Linked DNA regions of Homo sapiens: regions 2, 3, 4, 5, 6 and 7 are each linked to region 1. The links are contacts of gene promoters, found by promoter capture Hi-C in human tissues and cell types (Jung and others, 2019). All regions are on one chromosome and are shown on one strand. The core of a region is centred on a gene start or on the middle of the fragment in contact, and the rest is flanking DNA. Distances in the headings are between cores, read along the strand shown.

Region 1 (4,356 bases), core at 843-3,342:
TTACCTACCCAGCGAAAGTAGCAGTCTGCAACAAGGAAAACAGCTAAGTTAAGAGGAAGTGGTTTTCATTTTACTGCTTGCAGAAAGGCCAAGATTTTGACGTTTAAAGCGGGCACACGAGTCATTTTAAGTCTCTAGATCTTTCACCCTGAAAGTCCCTGCACAGAAACTCCATAGGGAGTCTAAATATAGCAACAGCACCCCCTCCCGCCCCCTCCGCCTTCAGTCAGGGTCCCGCGCAGCTCTAGGATTGGAGAGCTTACTCCAGGGCGCTCTCTGCATCTGCCTCGAATAGCACCGCACGGAGCAACCTCTCTCGCACCTCCACAGTGCGTGGGTGTGAAGTGTATTAGGGGAAAGCTAGAGAGTGACTCTGGGTGATGGTGCTCGGCTCACAGTCACATGGCGTCGCCGCCAGCTGCACAGAGCTCCCAGCTAGCTTCTGCTGCCCAGAGGCTTGGGGGGAAGGAGGGAGGGAAGCAGGCTCCTGCTGGTGACCAGGAGCAGGCGAGAGGGCTTCACACAAATAATAGTGATAATAAAGAGTAAAAGCAAAGCATTTAAATCGAGCTATTGCAGAAGACAGAAATCAGCTGCCGCGGGCGTGGGTGTGTGTACAGGGTGGGGGAGAATTGGGAAAGTATTTATCTCGGAGGGGCGGAGACAGCTGCAAGAAGACTTTTGTCTTAGCATTGTTTTAGCCTTAGGAAAGGAAAAGGCCCGAAGGAATCCACCTTGCAACTATCTGCTATGTCTTTGTGGTGGAAGCTTAGTTTTGCCTTCAATTTAATTTGATGATTTTCTTTCATATTTGGGGAAGAGCCACTCTGTTGGAAGAAGTCCCCGAGCCTGGCACCCTTCAGTTTTCCCTATGCTGAATGTGAGATTTAAACTGCCTTTTCTTTGTAATACACTGTTTCTGAAGGCCAGAGGCTGCGGCCAGTGGCACCGTGGCCTCTCTCTCCGCCAAGGGCGCATAGGCTTTGGGCCACCCGGGTGCCAGGGGTGGTGGAAGACCCAGTCAGTTGTTCCTTGCAACAGGTCTCTAAGCTTGTATGTTACAACATAAGGTGGGTGGGGTCGGAACCCCGAAAAGCCGGCGTCCTGGACACCCCATCCTCCAGGTGTTCTTTCCCAGACACTGGGTCCTCGCCGCCGCTGCTGAACTTCTCAATCATATGACTTTCTCGGACTTAAATGGAAATTTCTTGACGGAGGGAACTGGGTTTGTTCTCCCAGGCTTCGCGCTGCAGTCAGGCAGAGCCCCGGGGCAGCTCGCTCACCGCGGAGGAGCCACTTTGGAGTTTTACGCCCTTTCCACACCCCACCCATGGACTGGAAAGGATGTTCAGTTACTCGCGAGCTTGTCTGATACTGGGATGGAAAGTCACAGTCCGCAGGCTGGAGTGAGGCGCGGGAAGATGCCTGGTCCTTGCCTCGCGGACTTGGCAGCCGCGTCCTGCGGGTCTGTCCACTGAACTGCTGAGGACTCGCCCGTGTGCGGGGACCCGAGTGCCACTTCCCGGAGCGTTACCTTGCGCTCCAGCCTCCAGGCTAGATAATACCTGGAAGGCAGGGCAGGGCTGTTCCCGCTCTCACCCCTTGCGGAAGGATGGCAGGATCCGGCGCAGCGACGTAGCAGCGGGAGGGCACAGCGACCTGCATCTCCAGTTTCTCCTCAGGACACAAGGCTGACTTCACCTTCCGGACAGCTGCAAAGCCCCTGCCAGAACCAAACCGAACTCGCGCCTCGGAGAGGGGCTTCTGGGGCCGTTTCGCTGCAGGGCGTGGGGAGTGGAGAGAGGGAAGGGGAAGCCTGGGGCTGGGTGTGCGCGCGTGGGAGCGCGCCTCGGAGCGCCCCGCACTCCCCCACTCTATCCCCGGGGGCAGTTTGGGAAGGAGGGAGTGGTAGTCGCGGGAATGAGGGAGCAAGAGAAACCCTCTCAAAGTGACGCCCCAAACAGGTCCGGATTTAGAATTCGAAGCTAAAGGCTGTTAGAAATTGGGACTCCTCGGCCTCCTCTGCAGCCCCTCCTTTCCCGCCCCGAAGCCCGGGCGGTTTGCTGGCTGCCTGCTTCCCCGCCCCCGGCTCAGAGGTCTCTGGCTGGCGGGCGCCCCGTCGGCCGCCGGCTTCCTCCTTGAAACCCGCCGGCGCACATGAGGCCGCTGCCCCCGCCGCAGGCGCTGGCGGCCCCCTCGCGGTGCCCGTGGTGATGCCATGCCCCGCCACCACGCGGGAGGAGAGGAGGGCGGCGCCGCCGGGCTCTGGGTGAAGAGCGGCGCAGCGGCGGCGGCGGCGGGCGGGGGGCGCTTGGGCAGCGGCATGAAGGATGTGGAGTCCGGCCGGGGCAGGGTGCTGCTGAACTCGGCAGCCGCCAGGGGCGACGGCCTGCTACTGCTGGGCACCCGCGCGGCCACGCTCGGTGGCGGCGGCGGTGGCCTGAGGGAGAGCCGCCGGGGCAAGCAGGGGGCCCGGATGAGCCTGCTGGGGAAGCCGCTCTCTTACACGAGTAGCCAGAGCTGCCGGCGCAACGTCAAGTACCGGCGGGTGCAGAACTACCTGTACAACGTGCTGGAGAGACCCCGCGGCTGGGCGTTCATCTACCACGCTTTCGTGTGAGTACCCGCGCCCCCTGCTATGCCCGCTGCAGGGGACCACTGTCCCTGGCCCCCTGGGGCGTGCTCCGCGCTCGCGCCCTTGGGCCCCCGCGCGCGTGCACACGTGGTGGCTTTTATTTCTTCGCACGTGTTCGTGGTCTTCCTTCTGGAGCCTCTCCCCTCCCCCAGCCCCACTTCTCTCATCTCTACAGCTTGAACCTTTTCCCCGAGGACACCCAATGAACTGCCCGGTAGCTTCAGGCTCCCGGGGCGAGAGCCAGGCAGACGCGGGACTTAGGCTGCGCGGATAATTGGGAGCAATTAGGTCCCAAGATACGTAAACTTCAACCGAACGGGGCGCCCGGGAGCTAGGGAATGCAAAGGGAGGACAGGCGCCCGTGTGAGGCTTGAGAGTATACTGGAGAGGTTAGGAGGTGATGGCGGGGTAGGACGGGGAGAAGTGAGGGGGCATCGAGGGCTAGGTCCTCAGTCCTAGGGGCGGAGTAGGGGAAGCTGCTACTTGGAGAGAGCTGCTAGGTTTTAAGCGCGCCCGGAAACACGCCTCGCCACCACCCAGCCACCACCAACGGAAAATCTGTCAGTGCATGTAGCCCTTCCTGCCACGGAGAAGGTGGCCAAGGTCTAGAGGAGGCCAGCAGGCCAGGCGAAGCAACGCTCCCGCGCTGCAGGGGGCGGGGAGGCAGCGGGGAACCTGGGGCGCAGGAACGCGGGCGGAGGTGCGATAGCAGAAGCGCAAATGGGTCGCCTCTGACAGAGATCGGGCAGTGGGTTAAGTCCCCGTTTGTGGCGCGGAGTCAAAGAGTGTGTGTGTGTGTGTGTGTGTGTGTGTGTGTGTGTAGTAAGCCTTCTCCATCTAGCAGAGAATGCTTAATGAGAAAATGATTGGAAGCAAATGTTTATTTTTCCCTTAGGCATTTAAAACCTTTCAGTGGCTTTAAAGTTTACTACTGTTTTTCCCACAAAGTCCATTCATTCAGTCTCCTATTAGAGTTACGTTTATCTGGGCATTTTAAGGTTGTTTTTATAATGTTACCTCGTGTCTAATTCTTTTTTTCTTCCTCTTCTCCTTTTGCTTCCTCTTTTTTTAGTATTATTATTTCTGCTTCTTTTTTGTTAAGATGAAATATAAAGACATCAACCTTAGAAGACCAGTAGAGAAAGTTGCAGATACTCGCTGATACATTCCTTGTTTCCTAGTAAAATAAGTTTTGAGCACACGGACTAGGTTTCTTTTAGAAATAAGTTATGTCATCCATACATAGCTCTCTCCTGGGATGCAGAATTAGCATCAACACCAGAAACGTGTTTTGAAATAACATGGAAGAAGGGCTGGTTTTGTAACTAGGTGAACCTGGAATTCAACCACATAGGAGTCAGGAAATTGGTGGAGTCTACAATCTGTGGGGCTCTGGTGTCTGGAAAATTTTACAGTCCCAGATTGACGTGAACATGTAGCATTAGGCAGAATATTCCAGCCAACTTTCCGTTTTACAATGCACACAAGGAGAACGGTTGTGTTGCATCATCATTACATCAAAAAGTATAACTTTTATGTAAAATTCACATTTATTTAAATGTGGTTAGGATAATGATAGAGAAATGCAACTGACACTTTTCTCGTTAATCTCCTCTGACCTGATATGTAATTAAACATATTACTTAATAAGCCTGGTAAATTATTTTGACCTGTCAGAATATACTAAAATAATTTAGCAATTATAATGCTCAATTTGGTAG
Region 2 (4,356 bases), core at 794-3,293, 240 kb before region 1:
TACCTTTCTGATCACTCAGTAAATATATAACTTTTTTTTTAAGTTTTCATTACATTTCCTCTAGAATAGGTATGTCAGCTGGATGTTAGAAATTACACTGATGAACTAACTTGTACCAGCCACATGTAGTTAGTTATCATAAATCCAAATAAGCCTCCAATTATGATATAACTAAACAGAGTGAAACATTTCTAGATGATAATATTTTGGGAGAGTGCAGCTACCTTGAGTAGTTATTGCTTTTCACAGTTGAATTTGCTTTTTCTATGATGACAGAATCTCCTAGAGTTGTATGCAGGTACTTCTGGAGGGAGTGGGGCAAGGTTTGGGTACACAAGGGACCCAAACCTGGATTGGATTTGGATTGCTTTGTAACTAAGATATGGCCTGTAGGGGATCTCTGCAGTTTTTGCTGGCTTGCTCCTTGGGAGCTTACTGGTGAAAATGTTTGTAATCTTTGCCTACTGAATTATCTGCCAATAAAATTCCAAATTTCCCTTTTAATAAAATGGAAATGGAATATTTTTAAGTTAGCAGTGGTAAATATCTCTGACCACATTCTTGCCTCTTGGTTTTATAAATGCAAGAGAAAAGAGATGGTTTCTGGTACATCTGAATTTACTTTTTCATGAAAATTCTGAAGTTAGAAAAAAGACTATATGATTTCCAATAAGTTTTGGAGGGACTGACCCTAGCACCCCAATTTTCTTTTAATCTCTTCTTAAATCAAATCTTTGTAAATAATGCTTTCACATTCTATTAAAAATGTATAGAGAAATATTCACCCAATTATGTGAGGATCGTAAACCAGTCATTACAATATGTGCTAGCATACCCTTGTTTTAGTCTGTGAAGTGTAAGTTTTGCTACCCTAAACCTCTGACTACCCTGCTGTCATCCTGCCTCACTTCCATGAGGAATATTTTGTCTGGGTCTATAGATTTTCCCAGTCCCCGGTGTGTTAATGTGAGAATTGAGTCTCCAGTAAGAGCTGTTACTCTTCCACATCTGCTCCTTTCCTTGTAGGCCCCCAAGTCTTCTGAACTAAGGAGAGAAAAAAACTCTATAAAAAAGAAGAAGGGCTGGGCTCCGTGGCTCATTCCTGTAATCCCAGCACTGGGGGAGGCCGAGGCAGGCAGATATCGGGAGCTCAAGACCAGCCTGGGCAACATGATGAAACCCTGTCTCTACAAAATCATACAAAAATTAGCTGGGCGTAGTGTTGCATGCCTGTAGTCCCAGCTCCTTGGGAGACTAAGGTGGAAGGATGACTAGAGCCCAGGAGGCAGAGGTTGCAGTGAGCCAAAATCACATCATTGCACTCCAGCCTGGGTGACAGAGAGAGACTCTGTCTCAAAAAAAAAAAAAAAGAGAATCAGATTTTGCTACTCATATAAGATTTCCCTGGGTTTTTAATCACAGAAATTTATCACAGGTTTTTCAGAGTCTGACCAAAACTCCAAACAAAATTATGCAACAGACTTGTTCTAATGATAGTTCCTTCAAATGGATCAAAATAAAGGATTCATTGTTTACGAAGCATGGGACAGTTTTACGCTTGAGAGATTCTAGGCTTACTGGAGGCCCTGAGCAATAAATGGAAGTACACATTCATATATGCCATTTAAAAGTTATAAACCAAACTAACAAAATGCCAAATAAAAGGTCTTTTAGTCTCCTTCCTTGACAAAAATATCTTTTTAATGACCAAGGAGGTCACATTTCAATTTAGAATTCTCAGGCTCTCCAGAGTTCTGTGCTTGGGCTTGGCTTACCCCACCTCCTGCTGAAACCTGTCACCCACCTTCTTCTGTTCCCAAACCTTGGCTCCGTCCTGTACCTTGAGTGTCCTTGCGCACGTGTTCAAGCTGTGTCCACTGCCACTTGGAATTTAGGGTGTGCACACTGCTGATACTATCCATCCTCAGGAGAGTAAACCCTAGAAAGACATCTGGGCTAGCTCTGGGATTGGATGCAGGGCCATTGAGGCAGGAAATTCTAGGATTCCATGGATCTGAAGGTTAGTTCAGAAGGGAACATGGGCTCTGAGTGGGCATGGACTCTGGGTGGGCACATCCTCTTGGCCCCCTCTTGGTCTATGGGACAGGGAAGGCTATATGCTATGTGAAGAGGTAAGATAAGAAGAGGGCAGAGCAAGACCCTTGAAAGCAAGAACAGAGTAGGGCCCCAAGCAGAGGTTTGAAGGCCAAACTGATACTATCTTTTCATAGTGTCTTGAACATAATATATTCTTATAAACTGCCTGTATTGATTAACTAACTCACTGATTCCATCTTTGTGAATTTTTATTTTATATATACAGACATATATTCATCTTGTTCTTAGGAAATCATGGCCAATCCTGATATGATCAATGTATACAACTAAAAGATGTAAAGGAATCAAAATTCCTCTTTACACAAACTTTGCCTTTAGGAGATCATCAAACTTATTTTATTCTTTCCTTGTAACATTTAACTACTTCATATGAACGATATTAATGTTGACTTCTCAGTAATGGTCGTGTAAGTTGTTCTAAGTGTTTACCTCACCCATCCTTACAAAAGTATACTTACACATGCTGTCTGCCTCTCCATTGTGAATTGGGAAAATCATAAGCACTCAAGAATAAATAAATACCTGCTCTGCTGTTGTTTCAAGGTACATTGAGTCCCCCAACAGGAAACTGCCCAATTATCCCTTATCACCCTACCATTTAGAGTACCTGATGCTGTGATTTTGATTTTCAGTGTGGGGGCTTCTTTAGTGATAACTAATTACATATGCCACATCTCTCCTAGATCAATTGTACTTCTGTTTCAGGTTTTCTCAAGAATTGCTGCCTATCTCTTTAAGTTGCCCTGCTGGGTCTCCCAACAGGAATTTCACAATACTGCATAGCTTCTATTCTAAATCAAACCACCCCAATTTTGATGAAAATCCATCTAATTTATTTTGTGGAATGTGGTAAGAAGTACAGAGAATCTATTCCATTTTACAGAATATAGAAAACACTTTTTCTTAATTTTCTTTGTGACCTAAAACCCTCTCTTCTATCTATAACTTGTGCAGTACAGTCATTTCCACACAATAATTAAGAACTTCATACATGTGTGTTTGTTTCAGAATATTAAACTATTAGAAAAGGACACCTCAGGGCAGGTGTAGTGGCTTATGCCTGTAATCCCAGCACTTTGGGAGGCCAAGGCGGGTGGATCACCTGAGGTCAGGAGTTCACGACCAGCCTGGCCAACATGGCAAAATTCTGTCTCTACTAAAATAATAATAATAATAGTAATTAGCCAGGCGTGGTGGCAGGTGCCTATAATCCCAGCTATTCAGGAGGCTGAGGCAGAAGAATCGCTTAAACCTGGGGGATGGAGGTTGCAGTGAGCCGAGATCATGCCACTTCACTCCAGCCTGGGCGACAGAGTGAGACGCCGTCTCAAAAGACAAGAAAAGAAAAAGAAAAGGACACCTCTGTTTATTGTACCCTGTGGGGTGCCATGAGGGTATTTAATAAACGGTGTTTATTGCTAGAATCTTCCCCTCTAACCCAATATTCTCTGAGACTTTGTGGGGAAGAAAAATTTCCATTAACTCTCTTATTAGAAGAGGAGCCTTATTCTTCCAGACATGAAACTGTAGAGGACTAAAATGTTCTATCTGAAGCTACAGAACTGAGAGTATTCTTTATTATTCCTAAAACTAATTTTATTATTTCAAAAATCCACACTGGGTTTGATTTAGAATATTATCTTCTGTGGTACACGATAGGGTGCTGTAACAAGGCACACACAGATAGTGTTTAATCAAGACTCTTACATAATAGTCCCAGTGGTCATCCCAGTCTGGGCTGTTATGGCGACTCCTTTATGTCAGAGGACTAGGCTTCGCCAGCTTCATCAAATTCTCCTATCCTAGACCCAAAGTAGCTGCTCTAGCTCCCACCATCATGTCCCCATGCCTTCAAGAGCAGAGGAGGGAAGGGAAATGTGGTCAGTCCTTAACTTAGAAGATAGGAAGTTTACCAGTAAAACAAATGGTGAGAATGAATAGATATTGGGGGCACATGTAATTATCTGTGACATGTTGCAGCTTAATTTTACGGCATTCTAAATAGCATTTGGAATTAAATGTGAGGCCCGGAAAGAACATGTGCTTTGAATGGAGCAAGGAGAATTGGCATTATTCTACTTGAAGATGTAATCTGTGCAGAATACTTTGAGATCTTATTCTGTAACAATAGATAACTTTAAATAGGTTCCAGGCACTTTCCTGAGTGCTTTACATGAATTATCTCGTTTAATACTCAACCCTATGAGCTAGGTATTTTGATTCCCCCATTTCATAGAT
Region 3 (4,356 bases), core at 810-3,309, 200 kb before region 1:
CTGCACGCTCTGTTGAGCAGAGTCTGAAAGCGAAGAGCTGGTCTTTAAGGGTCTCTCATTTCTCATCTTATATTTTCACTTCCATGTAAATCCATCCTTTGTGCCAAGTACCTTCTAACACATCACCAGGAGGGTGAAGGGAATGCACACGCTCCACCTCATCCTGTGATCTCCAGAGTCAACTGAACATCCCCATCCAGATGGCACTGAAAAGAACCTCTGCCAACCCTACAGCCAAGTGGTTTTAGACTCATGGCTGAAAGGTAGAACTTAAGAATATATATATATATATATATATATATATATATATATATATATATACACACACACACACACACACACACATACACATACACACCTATAAAATGAAATTTCTAAACAACCATTTTATAAAATGCTATTTGTCTTAATCAATACAAGATAGGAGCTATATGTAAACTGATGTAAAAGCCTTTTAAAATAAGAATGACATCAAGTGGGTCCATTTCTCAGTTTCATCTCTTGTCACTAAGCAACTCCAGGCCTTTCCCTGGTTCTGCATTTTCTGTTTGGACATTGTTAAGTGCTATGCACTGGCATCTTCCCCTCTAATCATTTTATCTCTGGCCTCAATTTCTGTATTTGGTATGAAAAACAGTGTGCTCTGTATCACGATTCAACAAAACACAGATTTTTCTAGGTAATTTAGGTGGAGTAGTAACAGGTCACCTTTTCCCCAACTCCCATTCATTTCTTTGGCCCTTGGTCTTTAAAATCACGAGTCTAGTAATTTTTAGATGCAAATTATGAGCCTTTTCCCATAATATTCCATGTCAATCATTGCTAGGTACCTATCATGTTTGTTGTTTATCACCCAAAATATATTTTTATTGCCTCCTAAGAGGTTTTACATAACAACCAACAACACTTTGTAATATATTTGCATTTTTTCCTGAAATGTCACGAGTAACATTGCCTTAAAATGATTCCAAATGCAAGAAGAGCTAAGTGTGAATTCCCTGTTGTTTTAGAATTTTGGCAGAGGCTCCAAAGCTGATAAGGAAGGGTGTTAATTATCTGCACAGTCTAAAAGGAGATGCCAGAGCAGCTAGGAAAACCTTGCTGAGGGGTAAGCCAAAACACAGTTTGGTCACCTTTAAACCAACACTCTTCATCTAGGGTATTTACAAACAGAGGAAATTGGCTGCGGGAAGATTGAGAGTTGAAATTTTTCTCTGGTGAGATTTCCAGAGTATGGAGTATCACCCTTTGAGGTAACAAAAGAGGGCTGCCCCACATTGCCCCCTGCAACAAGCTTAGTAAGAAAAGCACCTCAGGGGCCCCTTCTGAAGTGAACAGGCACTTGCCAAGACTGGGGAGACTGACTACCCGTTCCCTAGGGATTTTTGCAAGCTGCAGCAACCTGAAGGCCCCACGGCCTCCCAGTTCTTACTGATCACGTCACTGCTGGGTGTGGCCACAGAAGGTCTAGAATCTGACTCTCCCCTGGTTAAGTGGGAAGGATGGAGGTAGACCACAGATTACCTCAAGGCAGAGAAAATAAAGAGTGCTCACAGTATGAGGAAGCATCACTCCCATTGTGGGTATCCCTTGAGCTGATGGATGCATTCAAAATCACTGGTCTTGAATTACATTGATATAGCTCTGCTCTAGAGGGCTTCCTTCCATGAGTGAGGCATCTTTGGTGGAAAGATAATAGAGGTATCCAGTTAGAGGAAATGAAGGTGGGCAGGGGGTGGTTATACATGGCCGATCAGAGATTGAATTACTTCACATAAGAATTAGGGCTGCAGCAAGTCTCGAGTGGAAGGATTCAGAAAGTCAGTATGAAACCATAAAAGTAAATGCCCCCAAACTCAGTATTTCGGTACCTCTCACAACCATGAGGGCAACCACTGCTAGATAACAACTTTCTCATTTCCTTCCTTCTCTTCCCAGCTTTCAACACAACCCTGGAGCATTCAGACACAACACAGAGATAAGAGGAATTGAGAAATTTGTGAAAATGGAAAAGAAACTGATCATCTGATCATGTGTCCAATCTCTACTACAGGTTTTGAGCTTGAATTAGGCTCATATTGTCAAAAAGAGAGAAGCTTCACTTGCATGAGAAATTGAAGTTTTTATGTTAGATTTATCTTCATCCTTTTTATGTTGCTATAACAGAATACCTGAGACTTGGGAGTTTACAAGAAAAGAGATTTCTTTAGCTCGTGATTCTGACAACTGGAAAATTCAAGATCAGGCAGCTGCATCTGGTGAGGGCCCCATGCTGCTTAAACTCATGGCAGAAAGTGGAAGGGGAGCTGGCATGTGCAAAGAGATGACATGGTGGGAGGAAGGAAAAGATTGGAACTGAGGAAGCCAGACTCTTTTTAACAACCTGCTGTCAGGAAATAATCCATTCCTGCAAGAGGAAGAACTCACTTGCCCCCACAGGAGGCCATTAATCTACTCATAAGAGATCTGCCCAATAACCCAAATACCTCCCACTAGGCCCCACCTCCCAACACTTCCACATTGGAGATCAAATTTCAGCATGATCTTTGGCAGAGACAAACCAAATCATAGCAAGACTGGACTCGGGTTTTTAAAAACTTATAGAAATTTTCGAACATACGAAAATAGAATAGTATAATGAACTTCCATGTCCTTATCACCCAGCACACTACCCTGATATTCTACATATTAAAAATTTGGAGCACAAGTATACTTGACTATTTTAATACCTAAATGTGATGACTTCATTTTGATGTTTAATCACTGGCAGCTTTCAGGCCCCACGCTTCTTCCTTCCCCTTTTACCTCACCCGGAAGCCAATAAGAAAGCCTAGGATTCTCCCTCATGTGATTGTACAAATTCCATAGGTTTTCTGGTCTCTTTTAGATGACATAAACAGTCTTATTTTTAGTGTTCTGTGGGTGCCCTGTTAGGGAAGGATCAATTCCCCACTCAATATCATTTTGGGTATCAGGACTGATGGTGTTATACATGCACCCAGAGGGTATGAATATTACTCATATAATGAAACTCTAGGGAGAATATGGCAGGTATTCAAGCTCTTCTGGAATGGCTTGAGTCAAGAGAAGAGCAAGTACTTTGGATTTTTATTATAGTTAGGGGATGGAGCCTGGGTGAGTTTCACATAGCTCAGGGATTACCTCCTCTACCCACAGGCATCACCTCAGGGTATCCATGCTTCTTGTGCCTACACCTTCTCCTGGCTGGCTGAGTGTTCTGGAAGTCTAAGCGCAGAGAGATAAAAGTTTCTGCAGAGAGCAGTTTCTTCCAGCAGAACAGTGCTGTGCCAGAACACTGAGGCCAGCAGTGGCATGGCACTTTTCCCAGGATCAGCTCTCACTGGGAACACTGAATATATATTATAAATTATACCTTTTCATAGATGAATTTCTAGGAAAATTTTATTCCCTATTTTCATGAGTTGTTCCTCCCTAACGATAGATGTTAAAGGCTCTAATTGTCCCACTGGAGAATTAATTCAGCAAATTATCCAGCACCAATGTCAGAGGTGTAGCTCTCCCTTCTGGATATTCAGTTGGATAAACTCATTGCTTTCAACTTGAAAACTTTGGAATCAGCTCACAACCTGAGAAACTATTCAGGCCTTCCTAGGTTTTTAATGGAATACCATAAAATCTACGAGGGAGAATTGCTTCATTTCTCTAGATTTTTTTTAGGAATGAGCTCAATGAACAAAAAATAGCATAGATTCCAAATCTCTCAACCCTCAAAACAGTTTTCTTCTGGAATTTATCACTTTTTCAACTACTAAGTGAATGCTCCATTGTGGCAGGTTATAAACAGTGTGACATGCTGAAGCCAGTTTATAAGAGCTGTTGGTGTACGTCTCTTCCTGTGAGGCTTACATAGAACATTTATAGTTATATCAGGTTATTTTTATGGTTATAACAGATTATTTTAAGCTAATAACAATTATGATCACATACAAAACCTTTACATTTTTGCTCCCCCTGCATATTTTATGTTTTTATGTCGTAATTCACATCTTTTTATATTGTTCCCCTAACAAATTATTGTGGTTATGATTACTTTTAATAGCTTTGTCTTTTGACTTTTATGTTAGAAATATGTGACTTACACACTACCGTTACAGTATTAGAGCATTCTGATTTTGACCATATATTTACCTTTACCATTGGGTTTTTAAATTTCATATGTCTTCATGTTGTTAATTAGCATGCTTTCATTCCAACATGAAGAACCTTTATCATTTCTTGTAAGGTATGTCCAGTGGTAATGACCTCCCCAACATTTGTCTGCCTGGGCATGTCTTTAGCTCTTCATTTCTGAGTACAGCTTTGCCAGGCATAGTC
Region 4 (4,356 bases), core at 761-3,260, 180 kb after region 1:
TTGTTCCATTCTCTATCTCCTTAAGTTCAATTGTTTTGATTTTTAGATCCCACAAATAAGTGAGAACCTGTGATGCTTGTCTTTATGTGCCTGGCTCATTTCATTTAACATAATGACTCTAGTTCCATCTATGTTGTTGCAAATGACAGAATCTCACTCTTCTTTATAGCCCGGTAGTACTCTATAGTGTGCCATGTTCTATTTATCCACTCATCTGACAATGGACACAGATTGCTTCCAAATCTTGGCTGTTATGAATAGTGTGCAATAAACATGGGAGTGCAGATATCTCTTCAGTATACTGATTTCCTTTCTTTTGGGTCCATACCAGCAATGGGTTGCTGAATCATATGGTAGCTCTATTTGTAGTTTTTTGAGGAACCTCCAACTGTTCTCCATAGTGATTGTACTGATTTGTATTCCCACTAACAGTATACAAGGGTTTTTCCCTTTATTCCACATTCTCACCAGCATTTGCTATTGCCTGTCTTTTGGATAAAAGTGATTTTAACTGGAGTGAGTTAATATCTCATTATAGTTTTGATTTGCATTTCTCTAATAACCAGTGATTTGAACACCTTTTTCATATACCTGTTTGCAATTTGTATGTCTTCTTTTGAGAAATGTCCATTCAGATTTTTGCCCGTTTTAAAATCAGATTATTGGATTTTTTTCTGTAGAGTTGTCTGAGCTTCTTACATATTCTGATTATTAATCCCTTGTCAGATGGATAGTTTGAAAATATTTTCTCCCATTCTGTGGGTTGTCTCTTCACTTTGTTGATTGTTTCCCTTGCTGTGCAGAAGCTTTTTAACTTGATGTGATCCCATTTGTCCATTTTTGCTTTGATTGCCTGTACTTGTAAGATATTACTGAAGAAATCTTTGCCCACTCCAATGTCCTGGAGAGTCTCTCCAATGTTTTCTTGTAGTAGTTTCATAGTTTGGGGTCTTAGACTTAAGCGTTTAACGGATTCTGATTTGATTTTCACATATAGCAGGAGACAGGGGTCTATTTTCATTCTTCTGCATATGGAAGCTTCCCAGCACCATTTATTGAAGAGACTATCCTTTCCCTAACATATCTTCTTGGCACTTCTATTGAAAAATGAGTTCACTGTAGATATATAGATATATGGATTTGTTTCTGGGTTCTCTATTCTGTTCCATTGATCTATGTGTCTGTTTTTATGCCATTACCATGCTGTTTGGGTTACTATACCTCTGTGGTACAATTTGAAGCCAGCTAATGTGATTCCTCCAGTTTTGTTCTTTTTGCCCAGAATAACTTCAGCTATTCTGGGTCTTTTGTGATTCCATATAAATTTTAGAATTGTTCTTTCTATTTCTGTGAAGAATGTAATTAGTATTTTGATAGGGATTGCACTGAATCTGTAGACTGCTTTAAGTAGCATGAATATTTTAACAGTATTGATTCCCCACCTATGGACATGGAATATCTTTCTGTTTTATTGTTTCCTCTTCAATTTCCTTTATCAGTGTTTTATAATTTTCATCGTAGAACTCTTTCAATTCTTTGGTTAATTCCTAGGTGTTTTATTTTATTTGTAGCTGTTGTAAATGGGATCACTTCCATGATTTCTTTTTCAGATTGTTTGCTGTTGGCATATAAAAGTGCTTCATAGTGTACTTTACTTCATGGTGCCCGAAATCTGCTGAGAGGCAACTGGTGACAGAGACCTGAAGAAAGTGGAGCCCAGAAATGTCTTGGATTTTGACTTTATCTCTTTCTTTGATGGTCTTTCATGATGCTAAACAAGTCCTGTGTGCTTAGATAGAAACTGAAGCTTGTGAGAATGTTTTCTCTTTTACCTGGGGTGGATTGGGATCCTCACCATACAGCATTAATTTCTTAACGATATATATAATCATAGAAGACAATAGAGGCATCATTCCAGACAATATTTTTAAAGCCATTTGGCACAAGAAATAAGACAAGCAAAAATCCAAAAAGTGACAAAAGCTCTACCCAATGAGGGGGTCAGTCCCATCTAAGTAATGCAAAAATGGGATTGGCTTGAGGAAGTAGGAATGGGAACCCAGTACTGAAGTTATAGGCCAAATCAAAAGATGGGAAATCTAGAAGACATATTTCTTCAAAAAGATAACATAAAGTGCTTAGGGTCAGTTCAACAAAAGCCTTAAGGATCAAACCTGAAGAGACAAAAAATAGCAACAGACGAAGTAAGGCAATAAGCAGAGAATCATAATACTTACACAACCTCAAGAGGTTCTCTTGATATGACCTGCTGAGAAATAAAATATTATCTGAAAATTGCAAGACTCCAAGATGTTGGCCCAATATTCCTATTATTAAGGAATTAAATGTGTCTTCTGCATTTCCCATATTTTGATTTGGCTTGTAACTGCAGTACTGAGTTCCCATTCCTACTTCCTCAAGCCAAACCCGTTTTTGCTCCTTGCATGGTAAACCACTGGACTGAAGCTCATTAAGCCTTCCTTTCAAATTTTATTTATTAATTTTCAGTTTCGTTTTTCTCCCATATGAGAATAAGATCGACAAACAGCTTTACAGTTTGAAAAACTTCTTTCTATAAACAATAAACATTCAGTTTTATAAGCAGCCTTTGTCTCTGTTACTATTTATTATGTATATGTTGCATTTCTCATGGACATTTGTCAATGAGAATTTTTAATCTCTGTGGTAAGGTGTTTTCTTCCATTTATTTATTTATTTATGCATTTATGTGTTTATGCATTTGTTTATTTTGATGTCAGGAAGCCCTACAATTTAGTTGACTTATTTAATCATTCAAGAGAATAATATTGAAACAGTGAATTTTGATAGCATCATGTCTGGGTTCAATTATTAGCTACATCTTGCTAATCTGTATAATAGTCATACCATAGGGCTTAGTTAATTGTAAATACTCAATAAATTTTTATTTTTAACCTCACCATGTTTACTTAGTATTTATTATGAAAATAACAATATAATAGTTATTTCAAAAGTAATTGATTGATTTATGCAATAATTATCTTTACTTTCAAGAGGGTTAAATTCTATTAAATTATAAATGATACATTTAATTATCATCTAAAATCAACAGCATCTTTTACTGTTTAGAAATTATTTCTCTACTTAGTATCAGGATCTCTCCTGTCCTGATGATTATTATCATTATTATTTGTTTTAGTGACAGAGTTTTGCTCCATCACCCAGGCTGGAGTGTGGTGATCCAATCACAGCTCACTGCAGCCTCAAACCCCTGAACTCAAGGGATCCTTTGCCTCAGCCTCCTAAGTAACTAGGACTAAAGGCATGCACTACTATCCCTGGCTAATTTTTTTTAAAAATATTTTGTAGAGACAGGGTCTCAATATGTTGCCCAGGCTGATCTTAAACTCCTGACCTCAAGCAATCCTCCCACCTAGGCCTCCTAAAGTGTGCGCCTCCACACCTGGCCTAGACCCAAAGAATAAATAATAATCAATTGCTCTGTGCAAGAGGTTGACACAGGATGTGGAAAAGTGTTCCAGGCAGAGGAAGCTGCAAGCGCAAATCCCTACAGAGCAAAAGTACATGGTTTTGGGGTAACTGGAAGTCCAGTATGGCTATGTTATAGAAAGGGAAGTGAGAAGAAAGTAGGTAGTGTTAAATAACTTGGACTTCATCCTGACAGTATTCACTTGCCAAAGAAGAGTTAGGAGGAGACAGATGTGATCAAATGTGTTTCACTGGCAGCAGCATGGGGAGTTCACTAGGGGCAGGATGGGGACAGAAATTGAAGGAGAGAGTCAATGGCGGCCTTATCTGGGCTAGTGGCAAAGGAAATGGAGAGAAGCGGACTGATTTGAGTGATACTTAGGAATATCTAAGAAAGAAGAAGTTGTTACGATTTTGAATATTTTGCAAACAATCAAACGCACACTTAAGAGAGGATACATAAAAGGAGTATTCACTTTGGGAATGGCAAAAATGGAGAGATGCAATATGAAGAAACAGAGACTAAGTTGATTTATTTTTGTATGGTCTGGAATATTTAGTTAAAGTGTCTACATCAACCAAACCGGAATACAAGGAGTTGTTCTGTGCAAGAGGGTGCACAGAGCACTGTACAAGGGTACCCATTGTCAAAACCCATCATGTTTTTATTAGCTATTAATTTTCTCCTATGTCTTATGTTACTCATCCTGATAATCCACTGTATCTATTTAAAATAAATAGAAAGGCCCTTTTTACTTTTTATTTGTGTGTCTAGTGCCCCAGCACTTTCAAGGAGCCTTTCCCAAGCCAGGTGGTGAATGAAGAATAACTATAAAAGTGACACCACTGCCGGGCGCGGTGGCTCATGCCTATAATCCTAGCACTTGG
Region 5 (4,356 bases), core at 711-3,210, 180 kb before region 1:
GGCATTGACATGGCTACATTCCCAACTCTCATTTCTTTAAGGATGGACTAAATGACTGGTATCATAGCTTTCAGAAGTGTCCCGAACTTGATGGGGCTTATGTTGAAAAATAAAGTTGGCAATTTTTGTCTTTTAATTCCATTTTTCCATGTATTTTTTGAAGTCCCCCCGTATTTGGGTTGGTCCTTGTAAGAAGTAGTGAGCCATTTTCTCTCATCTTCCTCACTGCTGAACATCTCAGGTCACACGTGATTTTGTCAAGTGCCTTTCTTCCATGGCCCTGAGGTTTGCAGTGAGTAACTCCCCAGTAAGTGACGTTTGTATTCTCCCATCCTTAACCCCTAACTCACCTCTGTGCTTGCCCATTTTCCCCATCACACAACCCCTGCCTAAAAGAAATCTGTGAATTTTCCCCATGAGGAAACTAATGAAGTCCTAACCCCAAATGAAGAGTGGGTTCCTTCCTTCCTCCAAACAAGTTATATAAAATGCTTCTCTAAGCTTCACCAGTAGGCTATACTTCTGGTTTTTTTGTCTGTTTGTTTTTTGCTTTTTTTTTCAGAAGATATATTATTCTGCTAAGAATCCTAGTGGAATCATCAAAGGTCACTACTACTAAGAAGAGCATTTTGACAAAAGACCCTTCCTCAAGGACCTCTGTGCTTTCTGACAGAGTGAAAATTTAAAAAAAAAAAATCTCTGAAAAGGAGAAAATCAAATGAAAGTCATTCCAAAAGAGCACCATATGGCCCACAAGATGTGTGGGTATGGAAGACTCATGCAATGAGGGAAACACACAGATTCTGGAAATCAAAAATGAGCCCCCCCACCCCCCACAAAGTAGGTCATCCCTCATAGCCAAATTCTGAGACCAAATTTCTCATCGCATACTTCTAATTTAGTTTACCTCTGTTGGCATAAGTATGTTCATTTAAAAGTGAATTTCATTCTCACCTCAGCATGGCTCATATTTGTGGTATAGCTAAATGGCTTCATCTTGAGGGTGATGTTGTGCAGCATATGTTACTAAAGTATAGCATCATCTTCTGATTTGAAAAAAAAGAAATGTACATTTGAACTCACTTTGGAAGCATATGTATACAAAATTGTTCTCCTTTACAATAGCTAGCATTGTCATAAAAATTGAAAGTAGGTTCAGAATTAGTAAAGAACTCTCATGGCTTCCTTCAGGACAGGGTTTCTCAACCTTGGTACTATTGACATTTGGGGCTAGATAATTTTTAATAGATTTCACTTTTTAGAGAAGTATAAAATTCGAGCAGAAGGTACAGAGGAGTCTCTTCTACCACTGTACCCAATAATTCCAATAATTTTTTTGTAGGGAGATGTCTTGTGCATTTTAAGATGTTCAGCAGCATCCCTGGCCTCTTCCACTAGATGCCAATAGCATCTTGCTGTTGTGAGGACCAAAAGTATCACCAGACATTGTCAAATGTCTCCTGGTTAAAATCACCAGGCAAAATCACCACTAGTTAAACATTATTCTTTCAGAGCTGGGCCTTACCCCTACAGGAAAGATAGAAGGTAGATTCTGTCTTTGAATTTATTAAGGAGCATCATTTTTTAACCCGACTCTATAAAATAGTACAACATGGGTAGATGTTTTATGAGTATTGATTTCTTCAGATAAAGCCACTACAAATTCATTATAAGCATTTGAGGAAGATGAGACAGTTGGAAGTGGGGTAGAAAAGATGTCAGCAGGAGGCCAGGAATGCTCCATAAGAAAGACACACACAGTGGTAATCCAAGGTCCATCTCCAACCCTGCATGTTCACAAGCTCAATATAGCTCAAGAATTATTAGCTAATTGATCAGACTTGGAGTTTCAATTCACAGGAAAAAAGCTAATGAGACATTATTAAATGGAACAACCATTGATAATTGGTAAATTTGCAATGAAAACGTCATAAAAAGGATCGTAAAAAGGATCAAAATCCATATGAGCTTTACCTGCACAATTTCCTCCAGTAGGTTGAGCTGCATGGAAACTAAATTGTCAGAGAGTATGCTGTAAATATGAAATCAAAACATGGAAAGTAAGACTTGTGATCTGATAGTTTAAAGGGCATCAGGGTTTACTCAGTCTGACATGCTCATCTCCACAGTGAGGCCCTTCCCCCTGCAGCTCTGGGGAAAGTCACATCTGAATTAATATTTCCACAAGTTAATGGGCTGAAAAAAGATCCAAGAAGCTTGCTAAAATTCAAATTTGTGGACTCTATTCCCAGAGATTCTGATTTACTAGGATGGAGGTGGGGCCAGTCATCAACATTTCAAACAAACATCCCAGGTGCTTGTGAAACACAGACCTGCGATCTCCTTTGTATCTGCCTTTTTCCCTTTGCTTCTGTAAGGTTCTGCTTCCTCTGGTCCACATAGTCTTTCTCTTAACATGTTAACACCTTCAGAGGTTGCAGTAAAGCCTGCCAGCCTGGAAAACTCTCTGTCTCCGTAGGTAATGCTGGAAATATAGGTATTGATTTCCACTCTATCAAAATGTCAGCATATCTCCTTTATTTCCTTACTGGGAATGAAGGAAGGCAAAAGGTACAGACCACAATGTTAGTCCCATGTGACACCTACAGGTAGTAAAAAGATGATTTTCTTAAATTATTGTTGAAATAGCAAACTTGAGGAAAGGTTGTTCCTCTCTTTGAAGCAGGCTACGACTTTTTGTTGTTGAGTTTAGGTTATTGATTTTAGTGAAATTACCAAACCAGAGAGCAGAATATTACATACTGAGTAATAGGCACCCCGACTTGTCTCCAACGCCCCCAATTAACTAAACTGAATGTCCTGTTCTTCATATTATAAGCCCATCTGTCCATTCATTCTATAAACATTTGCTGAGTATTATTGGGATAATTGTTATTTTTCAGGTTTTGAGATGTAAATTCTCCACTCTAGGGTGCATAGTTGTAGGATGGGGACTAGAGAGGGAGTAGAGAAATAAATAAAGGAAGCTCTAGGTGGAAGAAAAGAGAAATAACTTAACTCTAATAGGGTAAGTGTGGTCTGGGAGTGGAAGGGAGGCAGCAAGGCTTCTCGGAGTAGGTTACACGTGGACCGTATAGAGGGGGTGAGGAGGAGCCCATCACACACAGGATGGAAGAGATGACATTCAAAAACGATGAAATGTGAAGTGCAAAGACAGAGTACGGTGAGAGAGACTAGTGCTTCCTGAGATCTCTCAGTGACTTGTTTGGCTGAAATAGGAGGTGCATATGGAGATGTATCATGTCAGGAGGTAAGTAGGAGACACTCCATGAAGGGCCTTGTACAAAATGCTGAGGACTTTTGACTTGGTGAATTAGTGTAGAAATGAGTTCTTAGTTATTTTAAGCCGAAGAAAGGATACGAGTGGGTTTATGTTTAAGAGAGATCACCCTGTAACAAAGTGGTGGTTTCCTAGAGTCAGAGATTCAAGAAGAGGCTAAAAGTTTTTGGCTTGAGAAAAGATCATGAATAAGGGTAAGGCACAGCGTCATCTTGTCGAACATAAAATATAAAAGTTTTAAAACCTTCATCCTCTGAACAATCCATTTGCTTTAAGAACATTTTCTGGTAGTGCTCAGAGTCTGTTGTATAGCAAAGAAAGATGATGATTGAATCCACTCGCTGTTGTCATGTATAATTTTTAGACCATGGAAGTGACAATTTGTAGGTTTGAACAAGAAGTGTGGTAGAAGAAAATAATGAAGAAGGAGGAAGGAGAAGTGTCAAATAATATATGAAGAGCATATATTACATTTGAAGAGCATATTTGTAGTGGTAGTTAGTTAGGAAGTGAAAAAAGCTAGGGAGACGGGCTGTGATAGGATGAAATACTGAAGATTACCATATAAGCGCCAGTGAGGGGTTGGCGGAAGGTGGGGATGGTTAATGGGCACAAAAATAGAAATATTGAATAAGACTATTTGATAGCACAATAGAGTGATCATAGTAAATAATAATGTAATTACATATTTTAAAATAATCTAAAGAATGTAATTGGATTGTTTATAACTCAAAGGATAAATGCTTGAGGGAATAGATACCCCATTCTTCATGATGTGCTTATTTCACATTGCATGCCTGTATCAAAACATCTCATATACCCCATAAATACATACACTTACTATGTACCCACAAAAAATTTAAATAATTTAAAAAATTAAAAAATATATATAAGAGGCAGAACAATTCTAGGTGATGAGTCAATATTATGTACAACTATTGCAAGAAATCCCTGCAATAGATGGCCTTTCAAGTATATTTGTAATCCACCACTCACGCTCTTTCTCTTACTCCTGAAGCCACAGTGGGCAGGGTGACAGACTCTATGTCCATGTT
Region 6 (4,356 bases), core at 1,125-3,624, 160 kb after region 1:
CACTTATTCAGTTGAGTGAGCATTTACAGAGTATTTATTATGTTTCAAGCACTGTGATAGGTGCAAGAGATATAAAAATTAGTGAGAATTTATCCTTCAGGTGGAGGAGGCAGGGACAGGGAGAGGCAGAAAAATAAATAGATGAATACAGTACAGCGTAGAAACAAGCCAGCAGACATGAGGCCAGGGTGCCATGAAATGAAGGAACAGGTTCATTTGATACAACTCAGGCATCACCTGAGCCTTTGGAAGATGGGTGGGATTTACACTGATGAGGAGGCCGGAACAGACATTCCAAGCAAAACAGATCACATAAGCCAGAGGTAAAAGAGGGAAAGGGAAATAATGTGTTGTGAAGAGCTCCATCCAGCTTCCAGGAACTGCAGAATAGTGTAAGCAGGGAGCTGAGATGGATGAAACCAACAATGCTAGATCCTGGAGAGGATTTTGTGCCATTTAATGAGCTAAGTCTTTATCATGTAAGAAATAGAAAGTTATTGCAAGGTTTTGAATTTTAGTTTGGCCACTCAGATGGCTTAGTGGAAGTTAGATTCGAGAAGGACAAGACATTACTGGGAACCCTATCAAAGAGGTTACTATAGCACTCAAAGGACGGATGGTAAACAGTTGGTTTAGAAAAGTGGTGATAAATATGCAGCAGGGGAGGTGGAGTCAATAAATATTTAAGAAAAATGATTTGCGATTAGTTGGATGGGGGTGGGGTAAGTGGAGTGGGTGGTTGAAGGTGTTGGCCGAGGAGTCTTGAGCTAGACTCCTAGTCTATACCACAGATCTTTGGAACTTCAAATCACAAGAAGCACACATTAGCCCCGAGCTACGTTTACACATTTTTCCACCTCCACCCTAGGAAGCAGCTCTGAATATCAGCAAGTGAAACAGTTTTCGATAAGCATTTAAACAACAACAACAAAACTCATATCCTTTTGGTCTTATCCTAGGTCAAAAGGTACCTTCTTGCCCTACACACATATAATCAAGAGGAACCACAGAGGTGATTCTTTGAAGAGCCAAGATAATTTGCTTCCAAGGCTTTTGTCTTTACTCCTAGGCTACAGAGCCTGCCCTAAATTTCAGGTATACCCCATAGAGGCCATCATCTTGAATCTCTGCCCCGACACACCCTCCATTAGGCCTTGACTGTGGGTGATTGTGCTGCCTATAAAAGAGAATGTATGAAGAGGATCAAGAGAAAATATAATCAGTTCACCGTTAAAAAAGCTAAACTTCAAATGCCTGTAGAATATTCAGTTAGAGAAAATCAGTTGGCAGTAGGATAATCAACTCTGAAACTCAAGGAAGGCATGCAATTTGAAAGTCAAAGGTCACGGTAAGAGAAAAACATGAACGTGGATGCCATTTTTCAAGGAGAGTCTCTAGCATAAGTGGAAAAGTGGGAAGAATGTCAGGCCAAAGATGAAGGTCACAGGGTCACCAGCACTTGAAGTACAGCTCTCTAGTAGAAAATTCAATGAAGAATTTATAGGTTTTAGAAATCTATTGCATAATATGATGACTACAGTAACATAAGCATGTACTGTATACAGGCCAGGCGCAGTGGCTCACGCCTCTAATCCCAGTACTTTGGGAAGTGGAGACAGGCAGATCACTTGAGCTCAGGAGTTTGAGACCTGCCTGGGTAACCTGACAAAACCCCATCTCTACCAAAAAATATAAAAATTAGCCGGGCATGGTGGCACTTACCTGTGGTTCCAGCTACTCGGGAAGCTGAGGTGGTGGGGGTCGCTTGACCCCCAGAGGAGGGGACTGCAATGAGCAGAGATCACGCCACTGCACTCCAGCCTGGGAGACACAGCAAGACCCTGTCACAGAAAAAAAAAAAAGAATATACTGTATACTTGAAAACTGCTAAAAGAATAGATTTTAAATATTCCCACCACAAAAAAAAAGGTAACTATGTGAGATGATAGATATGTTAATTAGCTTGATTGTGGTAATAATTTCACAATGTGTATGTATACGAAAACATCATGTTGTGCAGTGTAAATAAATACAATTTATATTTGTCAATTCAACCTCAATAAAACTGGAGAAAAAAATTTTAAAAAAATCAACAGCACAGTCAGAAATGTATCAGAGAAACTAGAAGAGAGTTGTATCCCAGAGCACAGAAGTTCAAATAGTTTTCAAAACAAAGTGATCAATTGTATTGAATATAGAAGAGGTGCCACTATAAATAGCTTTTGTAAAGATATTCATTAAATTTGGTAATGAAGAGGACAAAGGTAACTTTAGTGAAGTGATTTCACTGTAGTGCTTGTCTTTAGTTGCAGTAAGGTGGATTGAGGAGTATGTGAGTGAAGAAGTTGAGACTGCTTTTCCACACTGTTCTTTGAAAGTGTGGATGAAATTGGAAGGAGAAAGGCAAGAAAAAGTTTAGGAGCAGAGCCGTGGGAGACTCTTGATCTTGTCTGTTTGATTTGGGATGAGATGCTTAGTATATTTGTAGGCTACAGGGAAGGATGCCCCCCTAGAAAGCTGGTGTTGACAAGAGAGGGCATTATGAGGCAGAGTCCTGGAGGAAGAAGGAGAGGCCCAGGCCAGGGTCATAGGCACACAGAATGGGGGCTGGCATTCAACAGTCAAAGGATGATAGGGATATTTCTTTTTCAGGCCCAGAAAGGAAGGAAGCAAGCCATCATAAATGAATATGTAGACAAGTTTGTGAGAATGTGTGTATGTCTCTCAGAGAGAGTGGTGGGACAGAAGGGAGTTGAAAGAGTTCATACTTGACTGTTATTTATTTACTTATTCATTTTTTTTTCCTAGTAAGAGGTAAGGTAATCTGCTGAGAATAAGGTTAGGTGGAGTTCTAGGAGAGCAGTGAGTATTTGGATGAAGACTGAGGAGAGTAGGCAAAGGAATTACCGAGGAAAAAAATAAGAAGATTAAACTAAGCGGGAGGGTTCTTTTGGCATTTTGTTTTTTGTTTTCAGACGAGGTGTGATTCTGTTACCCAGGCTGGAGTGCAGTGGCACAAGAATGGCTCACTACAGCTTGGACCTCCCAGGCTCAAGGGATACTACCACCTCAGCTTCCCTAGTAGCTGGGACCACAGGCACGAGTCACCATGCCCAGCTAATTTAATTTTCTGTGTGTGTGTGTGTGTGTGTGTGTGTGTGTGTGTGTGTGTGTGTGTGTGTGTGTGTGTGTAAAGATGGGGTCTCCCTCTATTGCCCAGGCTGGTCTCAAACTCCTAGTTTCAAGCTGTCCTCCCAGCTGGGCATCCCAAAGTGCTGGGATTACAGGCATGAGCCACCATGCTGAGCCATGAGTGGGAGATTCTTAATTGGGATCAGCAACAATCTATAGTCTTGCATAATTTTTCAGTTGTACTCAACTACCACTATTTAGTTAAAGGCATTTATTAAGTATTCTTTACTATGTTCTTGGCATTATGCATTGCAAACATTACCACAAACCACAGTAGGTAGGTACATTTATTACCCCAATTTACAGGTTAAGTAACTTCTCCAAGTTTGCACAGCTGGTAAAAAGGCAGAACAGAGGCCTGTCCGACTCCAAGCCATATGTTATTTTCCATATGTTATACTTCCTCCCAAGGAGTTGGAGCTTTAAGAATTGATAAGACATTTTGCTTAGCCTGAGAAAACTCCTAATGCACAAGAGAAGATATGCCAATAAATAATCACAAGCAAATGTGAGGTATTGATATGCTCCAAGAGCAGAGAACAGGAGCCCATCATTCTGATGAAAGCTTCAGGGAAGCCTCAGGGGGCTGGCATCTGAGCACTGACTAGGTCTGAGTTTATATTCACCAGGTGGACAAGGAGTCTGGAGCATCCCAGACTTGGGGACTGTATGAGCAAGGACAAGGAGGTGTGAGAAGGCAACCCAGTTTTGCTCAATGCATCTGGGACATAGAGTGACTGTTGGGTGAGGAGTGGAAGACTTGGGGGGAGATATGAGATCAGATAATAAGGGGTATTTTATCTACTGAGAACTTTATCTGGTAATCAACTGGATAACATGTAAGGTTTTAAATAATGATATTAGATTTGAGTTTTGCAAACATGATCATGTTGGTAACAGGCAGGGTGGAATATAGAATAGGGAGATCAATAATTATAATAATTATAAGCTGTCACTTACTCTGGATCAGGCACTATGTAAGTGATTTTCTTAGATTCAGCAATTTAATCATAGAAAAGAAAGAATGAGCCCCAGGTTTCTAGCTCTGAGGCCAGTGTTCTTTCCACTGTTTTCTTATTTTTCATAGTTTTCTTGTTTATATCTAAACATAAATCTTCTGACACTAATAATCATTCAAATAGTGTCCCTACCCAAATTCATGTC
Region 7 (4,356 bases), core at 1,220-3,719, 160 kb before region 1:
ACAATATCCAGTGAAGCTGGTGATAATAATTGAGATAATAATATTCTTATTCCTTCACTTTACAGCTGTGTGACTTTGAACGAGGGACTTAACCCCTGTAGCTCTGTTTCTTCTTCTGTGAGTTTGGAAAAATCATACCAACATTGCAAGGTTGCTGTTGAGAGTTACATGTCAGTATTCTTGTATGTGATGGTACAATATGCTTGGCACACTGTGTGCATACAATGCTTGAAGACTTTATATTTCCATGATTATCAGATTAGTATTAGCTTCTGGAGGAAGCCAAACCTGTAACACAAGGGAGGGACCCACTGATAATAGGAGACAAATGGATTGAAGCTTTTAAACATAGCCAAGTCTCTCCTTATGGCTGCTTCCCAAAAGCAACAGCTTCCATTTAAATCTTTGAAAATACAACAAGATGAAGTGCTTTTCAGATGACAGGGTCCACTCCAAGACACAAGTGGCTTTTACATGGAAAATAACTGGATAATCAAAACAATATCTAAAGCCTCCTGTCAGACATTATCCTTTTCTGCTATGATTCATTTTACTTCAGGTACAAACATCTCGGTGTCATTGTATGGTCTGGTTCCTTTTAGATGTCCTTTCAGATGGAAAGCAAAATGTATTTTTCAGGCTTTCTCAGACAGGAAAAGCAAAATGTAACTAATATATTTATGATTCTGTTTTGTTCAACTCAGTAAGTGTATTTTTTAAGCATTGTTCCAGAAAAGTAAAAATATGGCTCTCTTTACCAGAAGAGTTTGAGAAGGGAGAACTTTCTGAATGCCATCAAATAATTCACTGTGTTACTTAGTATCAGCCATTTATGTTTTCTACCATAGAAAAATTGACAGTAATAGTTTCTTCCTTAGGAAAAAGACATAGAAAATACAAAGTTAATATAATAATAATAGCCGATATTTGTTTATCACCACCTAGGAGTTATATGCTAATCTAAGCACTTCATATGTAATTAATAACATTTAATCCTCCTAATAACCCTATATGGAAGCTTCTAGAATTACCTCATTTTCAGATAAGGAAATGGAGGAACAGAGAGGTTAAATAGCTTGCCTAAAGTCATGGGACTAGTAAGTGGTAGATTCAAACCCAAGCAGTCTATCTCAAATCCTTACAAATATACATTGCTGCATTTCCAGTGAAATGACATATATAGATTCTTATCCCCCATAACAGACATTTAATGAATCAACCAAGATGCAAAAAATTTAATGTAGGAATTATCCTACCAAAGGTTTTTCTTGTTTATTTTTTTAAGTAAGGTGTGTTCCTCATGTCTAAGGTAAATATAGGTATATGGTTGCCTTTCTTTTCTGACAAGAAAGCCTGGTTCTTGGTACTCATCATGATGTAAAGAGGGTATACTCCTTGTAACTGTGCTGCAGTAGCTCCAGTGTAGTTCATCCTTTGAGTTCTAAGGCTATATTTCATATGCCTTCTCATGAGATTTTTCTAGAAGTCTTAGTTCAAAATGAATTGCCTACACGTCAGCATTCCCCAGCCACATTGAGTAACCACAAAGCCAGTTCCAGCTGTGCATCCTAACATTCTTGCAGCAGCCTCACTCTCCCCTCCACAACACACATCTTGCTTTGAGGTTGTTTTCCTCAGCTAAGCACAAAGTGCAAACATTTGCAACAAGCCTGCCAAGGCAGAAAAGAACTGAAATTGATGCTACCTCACTTAGTTTCTCTTTCTGATCCATATCATATTCTGCTGTCAGAGTAATCTCTCTTGAGTACCAGGCAGTTTTATTGATTTCCATTTTTCTACCATAGAAAATGAACGCATCACCTTCCTTCCAGGCCTCCTTTATCTGGTTTTTCCTTGACATTAAACCTTGCCTTCACTTCTCTAGCCAGGCTGGACTACTCCCTAACACAGTTTTAAGTCCCCTTTTCACATGTTTTGCCTTACTTGCTTAATTTTTCAATAAATATTTCTAAAGCACCTACTACGTACCAGGTATAAAGCATGGCACTTGTCAAGAATGACTTCCTCTCTCAGTCTGTCATTTCTCACCCAAATTTCAAATTTCCTATCCAGTGCATTCTGTCCATTAACATGGTGTAGACTTTTCCAGCACTCATTATTCTTTGTTAATTTAATTCTGTCTCCTTAATGATGTAGAAGTTGCTTATAGGCTTTAGACCTCTGTATACTTTGCCGCACTGAGTAGATGCTAAGCTAGCCAAAAATAGTTACTAGTAGAGGAACATCAATGAAATCCTAAATCTTATTAGAACTGCAGTCCAACTAAGGTCTCCAACCTTTACTTAGAAAGTGAAGAGAAATTGTTAGGAAACTGATGAATAATTGTCGCCATCTGTGCAGATGTAAGTGAGGAACATGGAGTCACTTTTGCTCTTTAAAAACGTATGGTGTTGATATGTGTCTGAGGACAGCGGGGGTAGGATGCATGCAGAGGAAAGGAATGTACTTTTATCTTACACAACCTGGTCCAAATCCCTTGGTTTTCTACCTTAGTATCCTCCTATTAGTACAAAACTTTTTTGACATATTGTGTTCCCATTTTTTCTGCATTTTCTAGGCATAATTTTGAGTGTTCTTTCTGTTAAAGCATAGAATTAACCCAGCTCTCTGACCCTTGCCTTATGCTTTGAGATGGTGCTTTCCTAGCACTATACTCATAGTGTTTTCTTCATTTATTCTGCAGTATCTCTAGCTGTTTCCAACATATTATCATACTGTAAATACTTTGGTGCACTCATTTAATCAAAAGCCCACTTTATTCATTTTACTTTGTAATTCAATTCCCAGTGCGTCTTTTTCAGCACAATTGTTATGAATTTTCAATTTATTTTCATGTCTATTTTTATAGCTGCCACTTCTACAGTGTGGCAAGCTTTTTTTCCTTAACTTTAAAAACATCATTTCTGAAAGAAAGCTGTTCTGAAATCTGGCTTTTTCAGCAAACTGAACACCCACATGATGAAGATAGAATGGTGGAAGTTAGAGGTGGAAAAGATGCGTAAGGTCATCTTGCCTATTTTTTTAAGCAAATAGAAATATGTATGTACAATAATGTTGAGTTTACATAATTTCCCATTTCAAGCTTAGAAAATCTTGTTGACCCCCCGCCCCCACTCCATTATATGTTCTCTTATCTATGGGTTTTGCTAGAGCCTTATGAGCTTTGATAATAGTTCACATTTTCTTTGAAATCAATTTGCTTTGTACTGTAGAATGTGAGTCTGATTGATTCCAAATTAATTTTTGTCTTTTAAAGAATAATAATAACTTGCTTTTACCTACCTTTCTTCTTTCCTGTTTATAGGAGTAGTATTCTCCTTATCTATTGCTTTCTAACAAACCAACTCAAAACCTTAATAATTAAAATAACCTCAGTCATGTGTTATTATTTCTCATTGTTTGGCAGGGAAATGGGGCTTGTCTAGGCAATTCTTGTCCAGGGTCACAGGAGCAGCTGCACTCAGATGATAGTGGCTGCTAGAGTTATTTTACATGATTTTTCACACACACAGCTGTTTGATGGCACCTCAGCTGGAGTTTCCAGCTAGAACACCTGTCAGTGGCATCTCTAGGTGTCCTGGGCTTCCCTTGCAGCATAGTGACTGGATCCCAAAGGCAAGCATCCCAAAATAGAGGTGAAATCAGTATCGCCCTGTGTGACCCTAGCCTCCAAAGTTATACATCATTTTTACCCAGGAGTCACAAAGGACCACCCAAGTGTAGGCAGGGCAGGGACAGCGGTCGAGGGTGAGGAGTAGAGGAGGTAGGAAAATAGACTCTACCTCTGGATGAGGGGAGTGGTAAGGTCACATCGTAAACCATGGGATGAGAGATATTGCTACTCCCAACTTTGGAAAATACAATCTTCCACAGTGGTTACATAATCAACTACTTATTATTTGCAGTGGATAGAGAAAGATTTCAATTTAGATACCAGTTTCAACCTCTTTTCACACCAAACCGTACATAAGTGCCACAAATAGACTAAGCAACATGCACAGCTTTTCACTTTACTCATTTTGTCTTAATGCTTCCTGATCATTCCCTTTACATCAGATACAATCAATGAAAATGAAGAGGAGAAAAAGACTTGCTAATTCATAATCTGTGTACAATGGGCTCTAAACATATCCTTCAACAAGTCTGGGCTGTTTCTCTGCTAGCTATGTGAACCTAAGTGTCAGTTGACTTCCCTGGACTTCAGTGTGGTTAAATTATCCCAAAGTTCTCTTTAAGCTCTTATGTTCTAGAATTCTGACTTATATTTGCAGGTCTAAAATTCTATTTCCATGTGCTAAATAAAGATCATTAACAGTACCACCAGATAATTATTCT

What was found. The method cuts DNA at HindIII sites, captures the fragments that hold promoters and counts their contacts. A contact is called where the count stands out against the background at its distance.
Region 2: a fragment that was not itself captured here is called in contact with the fragment with the promoter of KCNQ5 in region 1 in 2 of the 25 tissues and cell types used here (lymphoblastoid cells and mesenchymal stem cells).
Region 3: a contact is called between a fragment that was not itself captured here and the fragment with the promoter of KCNQ5 in region 1, in 1 of the 25 tissues and cell types used here (dorsolateral prefrontal cortex).
Region 4: a fragment that was not itself captured here is called in contact with the fragment with the promoter of KCNQ5 in region 1 in 3 of the 25 tissues and cell types used here (bladder, heart right ventricle and lymphoblastoid cells).
Region 5: a fragment that was not itself captured here is called in contact with the fragment with the promoter of KCNQ5 in region 1 in 2 of the 25 tissues and cell types used here (dorsolateral prefrontal cortex and mesenchymal stem cells).
Region 6: a contact is called between a fragment that was not itself captured here and the fragment with the promoter of KCNQ5 in region 1, in 1 of the 25 tissues and cell types used here (dorsolateral prefrontal cortex).
Region 7: a fragment that was not itself captured here is called in contact with the fragment with the promoter of KCNQ5 in region 1 in 2 of the 25 tissues and cell types used here (adrenal gland and dorsolateral prefrontal cortex).

What each region holds. Positions count from the first base shown.
Region 1 is chr6:72,619,972-72,624,327 of GRCh38, forward strand. It overlaps KCNQ5 (potassium voltage-gated channel subfamily Q member 5), which reads left to right and starts at 2,093. Exons shown (of 14, transcript NM_019842.4): 1 at 2,093-2,616. The coding sequence starts at 2,219. KCNQ5-DT (KCNQ5 divergent transcript) reads right to left here and starts at 2,708. Exons shown (of 3, transcript NR_186827.1): 1 at 2,561-2,708. RefSeq lists enhancers at 478-667, 2,778-3,729 and silencers at 2,088-2,347, 3,378-3,427. The HindIII fragment of the contact is 7,455 bases long and covers 292-4,356 here.
Region 2 is chr6:72,375,392-72,379,747 of GRCh38, forward strand. The region is part of intron 29 of RIMS1 (regulating synaptic membrane exocytosis 1); the gene reads left to right. Among named protein-coding and RNA genes, the nearest start is that of KCNQ5, 240 kb to the right of the region's middle. The HindIII fragment of the contact is 9,411 bases long and covers 1-4,356 here.
Region 3 is chr6:72,419,160-72,423,515 of GRCh38, forward strand. No RefSeq gene overlaps it. Among named protein-coding and RNA genes, the nearest start is that of KCNQ5, 200 kb to the right of the region's middle. The HindIII fragment of the contact is 3,074 bases long and covers 523-3,596 here.
Region 4 is chr6:72,804,351-72,808,706 of GRCh38, forward strand. All of the region lies in intron 1 of KCNQ5 (potassium voltage-gated channel subfamily Q member 5), which reads left to right. Among named protein-coding and RNA genes, the nearest start is that of MIR4282, 160 kb to the right of the region's middle. The HindIII fragment of the contact is 6,866 bases long and covers 1-4,356 here.
Region 5 is chr6:72,439,997-72,444,352 of GRCh38, forward strand. No RefSeq gene overlaps it. Among named protein-coding and RNA genes, the nearest start is that of KCNQ5, 180 kb to the right of the region's middle. The HindIII fragment of the contact is 3,628 bases long and covers 147-3,774 here.
Region 6 is chr6:72,776,691-72,781,046 of GRCh38, forward strand. The region is part of intron 1 of KCNQ5 (potassium voltage-gated channel subfamily Q member 5); the gene reads left to right. Among named protein-coding and RNA genes, the nearest start is that of KCNQ5-IT1, 150 kb to the left of the region's middle. The HindIII fragment of the contact is 7,591 bases long and covers 1-4,356 here.
Region 7 is chr6:72,459,740-72,464,095 of GRCh38, forward strand. No RefSeq gene overlaps it. Among named protein-coding and RNA genes, the nearest start is that of KCNQ5, 160 kb to the right of the region's middle. The HindIII fragment of the contact is 3,583 bases long and covers 679-4,261 here.